2 separate regions of the Homo sapiens genome follow, and region 1 is linked to region 2. The links are contacts of gene promoters, found by promoter capture Hi-C in blood cells and fetal thymus (Javierre and others, 2016). All regions are on one chromosome and are shown on one strand. Each heading gives the region's core, a stretch centred on a gene start or on the middle of the fragment in contact. The rest is flanking DNA. Distances are from core to core; before and after follow the strand shown.

Evidence for each region. Contacts are between HindIII fragments. The CHiCAGO score rates a contact against its expected background, and 5 or more counts as called.
Region 1: a contact is called between a fragment that was not itself captured here and the fragment with the promoter of TMEM129 in region 2, in 10 of 17 cell types (activated CD4 T cells, naive CD8 T cells, total CD4 T cells and 7 more). The highest score is 7.2, in activated CD4 T cells.

The regions. Positions count from the first base shown.
Region 1 is chr4:1,901,439-1,905,682 of GRCh38, reverse strand. NSD2 (nuclear receptor binding SET domain protein 2) reads right to left here. Exons shown (of 22, transcript NM_001042424.3): 3 at 1,305-1,467. Among named protein-coding and RNA genes, the nearest start is that of NSD2, 32 kb to the right of the region's middle. The HindIII fragment of the contact is 3,262 bases long and covers 896-4,157 here.
Region 2 is chr4:1,718,810-1,723,121 of GRCh38, reverse strand. It overlaps TMEM129 (transmembrane protein 129, E3 ubiquitin ligase), which reads left to right and starts at 1,799. Exons shown (of 4, transcript NM_001127266.2): 1 at 1,799-2,489. The coding sequence starts at 2,285. It overlaps TACC3 (transforming acidic coiled-coil containing protein 3), which reads right to left and starts at 1,601. Exons shown (of 16, transcript NM_006342.3): 1 at 1,479-1,601. RefSeq lists enhancers at 771-1,766, 2,849-2,948, 3,589-3,668 and silencers at 1,389-2,198, 2,209-2,258. The HindIII fragment of the contact is 17,725 bases long and covers 1-3,559 here.

The DNA.
Region 1 (4,244 bases), core at 1,277-3,776, 180 kb before region 2:
GACTCGGCAGAGTCCTCTTCGTCCTCAGCCTGCCCCTCTAACATCTACATCTGCCAGGGAGGCACCTCTGTACCCCATTCCTAGCAGCCACCTGCTCCCACAGCCAGCTGACAAGCCTGTTTTGGCCATGCAGGTGGCAGTACAAAGACATAAGCTCATAGCAAGGGCAGCAACGCTGCCCCCACAGGAGCTCAGGCCTCCAGCCAGAGACCAGAAGGGGACATGTACGCAAGGACCACCAAGGGGCCATAAGAGGCTGACTGGTCAGCAATATTGGACTGGAGCATTGGCCTAGTCTGGCCTGACTCTAGACGCCACACTTCCAGAGGGTGCACAGATCAGATCACAGGGTGACACTAACTTGCTCAGTTCTAACTCCGCACTCGCCACATCGCAACTTGCTCAAACTAAATTCCAACTTCACTCTAGAAGAACTTTCAGAAAAACCTCAAACCACATTATCTTTTACTATTCCTCTAAAAACACATTTATGGGTTGACCAACCATTATTTGCTCTGTATCAGGGACATATAACATTCTTTTTTTTTTTGTGAGACAGAGTTTCGCTGTTGTTGCCCAGACTAGAGTGCAATGGCGCGATCTCGGCTCACTGCAACCTCCACCTCCCGGGTTCTAGCGATTCTCCTGCCTCAGCCTCCTGAGTAGCTGGGATTACAGGCGTGCACCACCACGTCCGGCTAATTTTGTATTTTTAGTAGAGACGCGGTTTGACCATGTTGGTCAGGCTAGTCTCGAACTCCTGACCTCAAGTGATCCACCCACCTCGGCCTCCCAAAGTGTTGGGATTACAGGCGTGAGCCACCGTGCCCGGCCGTACATTCTTAATATGTTACATCAGCCGCTCCATGTAAAAATCAATTTATCTACCCAAGCTTCATAAGACAAAGATGATCACTTCCAGTGTTTTCCATTCTTCCCATAGGCCTAATAAAATTCACTTGGACATTTTTACAACTTAAACTTAGCATAAAACACTCTTGCTGCAAATCATCCTGAAACAAGCAATCATCGTAACTAAATAATAAACTATCATAAAAACAGAAGTTATACAAGGCAAAGGTCATGTGTCCCTTAACACTAATTCAATCAGATGAAGTACATATTTGAGTTGAATATAAAAAGAAATGGCAACACATCACACTTGAATCAATCACTAACTTTAGGTAAAGCTGCAAAAATGAACCATAGCAGGGCTATTTAGAAAGAGTAAGAAAGAAGCCTGGAGATGAGAAAGATTAAGTGCAGAAGAGAAAGTTGGAAAAACAACCCAAAGAACACAATACCTTTAAGTTTGGTATAGCTGTGAAGGAGTGGATCTGCAGAAACCATGCAAGGCCACCAAGGGTAACCCGACACTTTGGACCACACCAAATCACCAACGTTGTATTTCAACAGGTGGTCTTTGTCTCTTCCAGTGTTTGGACAAGACTCTTTCTTAGCTGGAATCTGAAAATGAACAACAGAAGACAAACACTAACACATCCAATCACTACCTGTGTATCCAGAAGACCAAGGATTCACCAGGCTACAATGTCCAAATACACACAGACCCCCAAAAATGGAGTGTGCTCCCTTGCTGTGTTTTAGATGATAGCCTCAACATCGTTTCATCAAAATTTTGTCTCTCAGGCCAGGTGCGGTGGCTCACGCCTGTAGTCCCAGCACTTTGGGAGGCCAACGTGGGCGGATCACGAGTTCAGGAGATCAAGACCATCCTGGCTAACACAATGAAACCCTGTCTCTACTAAAAATACAAAAAATTAGCCGGGCGTGGTGGCAGGCGCCTGTAATCCCAGCTACTCAGGAAGCTGAGGCAGGAGAATGGCGTGAACCCGGGAGGCGGAGCTTGCAGTGAGCCGAGATCACGCCACTGCACTCCAGCCTGGGCGACAGGGCGAGACTCCATCTCAAAAAAAAAAAAAAAAAAAATTTCTCTCTCACTCTCAGCTAAAGGATCAGGACAGTGCATAGCACACAGCAGGTGTTCAACATTTTGAAGATCTCTATATAAATCTATTTCCTTGGCCTAGTATTAATAGACGGTCTTTAATGGTACTTTATTCAACTGGTCGAAAAGGAATTCTCACAGAATTCCAAATCCATACTGACTTCTGCCCCTCCAGTCATGTCTGACGATCAGTTCTCAGCAGCCCATGTGTCACCAACATGAACCATCCCAGTGTGGTGAGGGCAAGGGCACCAGGAGGACTAGGAGCAAGTCTCGGCTCCATCACATGTAATTTGAGTCCTTGGGGCTCTCTGAGCCTCAATTTCTCCATCTCTAGAACATAATGGGTAGGTTAAGGCTGAACATTCCACCAAAGAAAAACTCCTCCCCACAAGCCACTCACAGTTCTGCTCTCCAGTGGAAATAAGCACAGCCAGCATGGCCCCAACCCTCCAAGGGTGAATCTCTAGCCTTGCTCAAGAGCACTATACACATGAGTAAATTGTTCCACTGCCTCAGGCCTCAGTTTTCTCACCTGTAAGCTGAAGAGGCCGGCCCAAAACCTTGCCATAAGCATGCTGGTGAAGCCTGGCATGAGCTGCCACATGACACATTTTCATGTTTTTTTGATCCTCCCATCTCAGCCTCCCTAGTAGCTGGGACCACAGGCAGTGCCACCACGCCCAGCTAATTTTATTTTTTATAGAGACCGGGTCTCGCTATGTTGCCCAGGCTAGTCTTGAACTCCTGGGCTCAAGCAATCTTCCTGCCTCAGCCTCCCAAAGTGCTGGGATTACAGATGTGAGCCACCCCATCAGGCCTGACATACTTTCAGAACAGCTACCAGATTACTGCACAGCAACCCAGGTTTACATTTATTGACCCCACTCTCCAGAGGAAGAGTCAAAATTCAGGTTGAGTTACTCAAGTTTTAACAAAACCAAGGGACATGGCTAGGAATAAAAGCCAGATTTTTTTGTTTGGTTTGTTTTTCAGTTGGAGGAGAAAGAAAAAGCCAGCTCTGATGCAGGAACATCGTTTGAGGTCAGGAGTTCGTGAACAGCCTGTGCAACATACCAAGACCCTGTCTCAAAACAAAACAGCTAGGACTCTGACAACTTGCACAGGCCTCTTCCCAAGCAAAAGCATGAGGTTCAATACTGCTGTGGGCACTTCAAAAAATCTTTGTAGGCTGGGCATGGTAGCTCATACCTGTAACTCGAGCACTTCAGGAGGCAGAGGTGGGAGGATCGTTTGAGCCCAGGGGTTTGAGACCAGCCTGGGCAACACAGCAAGACCCTGTCCTACAAAAAATAAAAAATTAACTGGGCATATAGTGGTGCACACCTGTGGTCCAACTACTCAGGAGGGTGAGGTAGGAGGATCACCTAAGCCTGGGAGGTCAAGGCTGTTGTGAGCCATGATCACACCACTGCCCTCTAGCCTGGACAACAGAGACCATCTCAAAATAAATAAATAAATAAATAAAATTTAAAAACTTCACCACTGCCATTACATGAGCGAGAACTAAACAGCTCCTGAGTAATCAAAAAACGTTTTTTTAACCCTCAAAGCTCTTCATTATTTTAACAATTTCAAGGAGTTACAACTAAAAAGCAACACCCTATAGACCACCAGATGAACAGAGACTGCTGCCCCATCAAGAGTTCCTTCCTTCTGCCAAAGCCATGGCCCCTTGGTTGTTTCCTATGGCTTATACTCATCCGAGTGTCAGGGCCATCCCGAGTGCCACGTGAAGGCGTGGAGACACCATCACCAGGCAGAATGGAGCAGCACCACCACACCTTTCCATCGCAAGTTAGGATAAGGAAACACTCATTCGCTTGTGTTCAGTGTGCTGGGCTCTGCACTGGGAACCAAGAACAGGAGGCAAAAGACACATCCCTAGGCCTCAGGGAGGCAGGCCATCTGCTGGACCACCTGGCTGAGGAGACAGTAAGTGGACACTGGACCACAGGGTAAGGACAGCGGGAGCACCTCTGCACAGCTCTGCTTCCCACTCATCAGATGGTGCAGACTTAAGAAGTCACACTCTAGAGCCCAGCCTGTCTCCACTGACCACATCAGGCTAAAGAACACCTTGGAGATGAGATCCATGAAAAGAGTGTAGCCTGACGTTGTCAAGCAAGGGCTCTGAAACTGGCAGAACCACGTTAAGAAACAAGCTTTGCCTCTTTTTAGCCATTTGAATCTTGAACACTTAGCTCACCTCTCTAGACCTCTCAACTGGCTCAGCAGCCAGCTGAGAACTGAG
Region 2 (4,312 bases), core at 550-3,049:
TGCATAATCTCTACTGCTGTATTACTATATCAAGCAGAAGTCAAGAGACGGAAAAGCCCGGGCCAATAAGAAACCCGGATGAGCCAGAGGAAGCCCTGGTCTCCCCACAGGCCTCTGCGTGTGACGTGAGGCAGGACCGGGCAGTAGAGGGCAGAAAAGCAGGACAGCGGCTCTGGTCTGCTCTCTCCCACCGGGCTAGGCAGCGGGACAAGACCAGGCTGAGAGGGTGAAGGCCCAGAGGAGGAGCTGGGAGACGATGCGCAAACAAGGGAAGCCCAGAGCTGAGCAACAGGTGCCAAGGAACTTCCACATCAGAGCCTCCAGTCAGTCCCAGGTTCCAGGGCTGCCCAGGTCCTCACGCCGGTCACCCACACACTTGCCACCCTTTCTGTCTACAGCGTTCCCAGTCTAGGGAATGACGTAGGGAAAAAGGCTGCCAGAGAGAACCGAGTGTCGACCAGGGCAGGAACCCCACAGGCACCTGGTGGTGGAGGGGGACCTGGGGAGGCTTTGATTTGAAGAAGAGCAAAGTTGGGGAGGGTCCTGGAGAAGAGAGAGGGGGCAGCCCCGGCAGGTCGGTGCTGCAGCTTGAGAAGCCCACTGTGGTGCTGTGTGTGGGTGGGGAGGTTAAGAGCAGAAGGGAAGCAGGGAAACCACAGGCTTCTGGAGCCCAAGGAGTAGATGCCAGACCAGACCCGGGCCTGGCCACTGGCACATATGGGACTTACGGACGACGCTTAGGTTTTCGCCCTGAATAACTGGGTACAGGGCAGGGGAAGGGGTGCTGGATCGCTGGGGGACCCGCAAGCCTCGAACTCAGGGAGAAAGTGACTCGGAGGAAGCCTTCTGGCGGCCTGGAGGAGCTCGGGAGAGCAGCAGACCCAGCCTTAGTCAGGAGGGGCCTTTACTGACTATGGAGGCCCGGGAGGGGCTCTGGGCAGAGAAGGGACCGGCCCCAGGCTGGTGCTTTGGTGCTACTCTGGTGCACAAGAGGGATGCGGTGCGGGGGGAAGGTGGAGCGGCGCAGCAGGTGCGGGGAAGCGGTAGGGGCCCAGGTGTCCGCCGCAGGCGGCCTAGATGGAGTTGGCCCCAGGACGGAGGCCGGAAGGGACCAAAGAACAACAGGAGGGTCCGCGTGCTGGGAGCCAACAAAGAGCCAAGGTGGGCGACCGAGAGACAGGAGAGGGTCGAGGAGAGCAAAGCACCTCGGGGCGCCCGCTCCGCCGTCGGTCTTGGCCCAGCTCTAGCCGCCCCTGGCCACCATCCAGGGGGCCCAGCCCGGCGGTCGGTCTAGGGCCGGGTCCCATGACAGGGCGCGGTACAGGTTCTGGCGGCGGCCCCAGGAGGAGCCGTGGGGGACGCTTCCCGGGGAAAGCGGCGGCCGGGGCGGGAGGGCGAGGGCCGAGGGCGGGGCGGGGCGGGACGGCCTCGCGCCCCCAGGACCCCAGCCTCCCCGCGCCGTGTAGCCGCTCTCCTACCTGCCCGCCCGCCCGTTGCCGGGCTCTGAGCCCGCGCCGCCGCCGCCAGGAAGGAGGGGTCCGCGTCTGCTCCACGCCGGGGGCCAAGCCTAGCTGCTACCGCCGTCGCGCTTCTAGCCCTTGATGGCCGCCGGCGCGCCGGAGTTTCAAACGCCGACGGTTGCCTTCGCGCGGCCAATCAGCGCGCGGCCGGGGGCAGGACCGCAGGAGGGCGGGCGTCCAATGGGAAGCTGTGCCTCGCCGGCTCCGCCCTCCCTCCCCCCCCACCCCCCGCTCGGGCGCCGACGGTTCCGTTTCCGGAGTGGAGGGCACGCCAGGGTGTCTGAAGCTGAGACCCCGGGCTCGCAGTCGCCCCATGAATTTCGAGTTCCGCAACTGACGCTACTGGGCGGGGCTTCATGGCCAGGGCCTCGCTCAGGCCTAAGTTTCCCCACCTGTGCTCAATGCACAGGTGCGGTGCCGCCTCCAGGGCCGGCCGAGAAGAGAGGCCGCACCCGCACGGGGACTGCATCTCCCAGAGCGCCCCGCGAGCGGCCGAGCGGCGGGACTCCATGCCCTAGAGTGCCCCGCGGGCGGCCGGGCGGCGGGACTCCATGTCCTAGAGTGCCCCGCGGGCGGCCGGGCGGCGGGACTCCATGTCCTAGAGTGCCCCGCGGGCGGCCGGGCGGCGGGACTCCATGTCCTAGAGTGCCCCGCGGGCGGCCGGGCGGCGGCCGCCGCAACCGACAGGTCCGGGACTGGGCGCTGCGGCCTCGTCCGCGCGCCGGGGCGGGGGCCTAGCTCGACAGCTTCCCGGCGGCTGCGCGATGGACAGCCCCGAGGTGACCTTCACTCTCGCCTATCTGGTGTTCGCCGTGTGCTTCGTGTTCACGCCCAACGAGTTCCACGCGGCGGGGCTCACGGTGCAGAACCTGCTGTCGGGCTGGCTGGGCAGCGAGGACGCCGCCTTCGTGCCCTTCCACTTGCGCCGCACGGCCGCCACGCTGTTGTGCCACTCGCTGCTGCCGCTCGGTGAGGCTGCTCGGGCCGGCCGGCCGCATCCTCTCCTGCGCAGGGCTTGCTGGGAGGTCAGGAGGAGGCCTCCGCCAGCTCCCCGAGGCCCCGAAAGCGCCTGGGCGCAGCTGGGGAGAGGCGCCGGTCCTCATCCAGAGGGACCGCGGCGTGGGCTGAGCGCGCTTAGGGGCGCCGCCGGCACTGACTTGCAGGTGACGGGAACCCAAGTTCAGAACCTTGGGCAAGGGATGCTCCGGCCCACCAAGTCCTGAACCGTCACGTGCCTGGGGGTTGCAAGGCCAAGCAGCCCTTGCTTGTCGTGGTTGGGGGCAGTGGCCAGGAGAAGGCAACTGTTGATTGAGTCCAACGGAAGGGGTCGGAGGGGCTGTGTGGAGGGTGGCACTGCACTAGGCCTTGGAAGGTGGGTGTGGAGAGAACAGGCGGATTTGGAGGCAGTTCCAGTTTGGGGGCGCCACAGGGGCAGAGGCTGGGGAGGGCCTCTGTGCAGTGCAGGTGGGACGCTCAGAGTTGTCCAGGGGGGTGCTGGGCTGGGCCCCAGGTGCTAGCTGGGGCTCTGGAAGGTCCCTCTCTCAGCTGATTGGATGACGGACAGGTGGGAGGTGGGGTGTGCAGTGGCTGGAGGGGGATTTCAAGGGGGTACCTCTGGAGGACACGGGGGCAGACGCAGCCCTGGGAGGACAGATGGCCAGTGGCTGGCCAGGTTTGCCACTCTGGGGATACAAGAGGGGTGACCCTCCACATCCTGGTTTGAGGATGCAGCTGCCTGGGCCCAGAAGAACTGGAGGCAGGTGTCGGGTGGAGGCGCCCAGGCCTGCCTCATGGAGAGGGTGGGCTGGGGGCCCACTTGAGAGATGGATGGGGCTGAGTGGGGCTGGGGCCCTGACCAGGCCACTTTCTAGGGCTACTGGGTGGGTTTCTGTAGCCCTTCCAGCTGCACCCTCCCCAGAGGCCTATGAGGGACCACAAGTGAATTGTGGCAGCCACACCTGGAGCAGACAGCACAGCTGGCCTCACAGTCGGATGTCAAGCTCTTTTTATTTTTAACTTAGTTTGAAAGTTTTCAAGCTTTATTAGGTATTAGTTACCTGTTTTATTTTTATTTTTACTTTTTGAGACGGAGCCTCGCTCTGTCACCCAGGCTGGAGTGCAGTGGCATGATCTCGGCTCACTGCAACTTCGGCCTCCTGAGTAGCTGGGACTACAGGCGCCCGCCACCACGCCCGGCTAATTTTTTGTATTTTTTAGTGGAGATGGGGTTTCACCGTGTTAGCCAGGATGGTCTCGATCTGACCTCGTGATCCGTCCGCCTCGGCTTCCCAAAGTGCTGGGATTACAGGTGTGAGCCACTGCACCCGGCCCCTAGTTACCTATTGTTATATGTCATGTTACCTTGAAATGCAGTGACTGGGCCAACTCCAAATGTGGACTATTACTTTTTGCCAACTGGAACCTGCTGGTGCAACTCCTCACCATCTCCATGGCTTATTTGGACCTTCAAATTGTCCTCGATCTGGCCAGCAGGGCCCTGAAGCTGGCTCCGTGTCCTCTGGACATGTCCCATCATTCTTTGAGACTTGCTTCCTTTCTCGCACATAACTTTTCAGCTCTGGGATGCACCACATTTGATCAGCCTCCTCAGAGCGGGTGAGATTGAGAGACTGAGATCCTGTCCAGGCAGCTGCCCTGGCAGGCCAGGGGTCAGCTCTGCCTGAGGTGACACCTGATTGTGTTTATTTTTCCCTTTCTAGGCTTTTGTAGTTTTTTCAACACTTACGTATTGTGTGAAACTAAAGCAGCAAATTAAAAACCTTTTCCGCTAA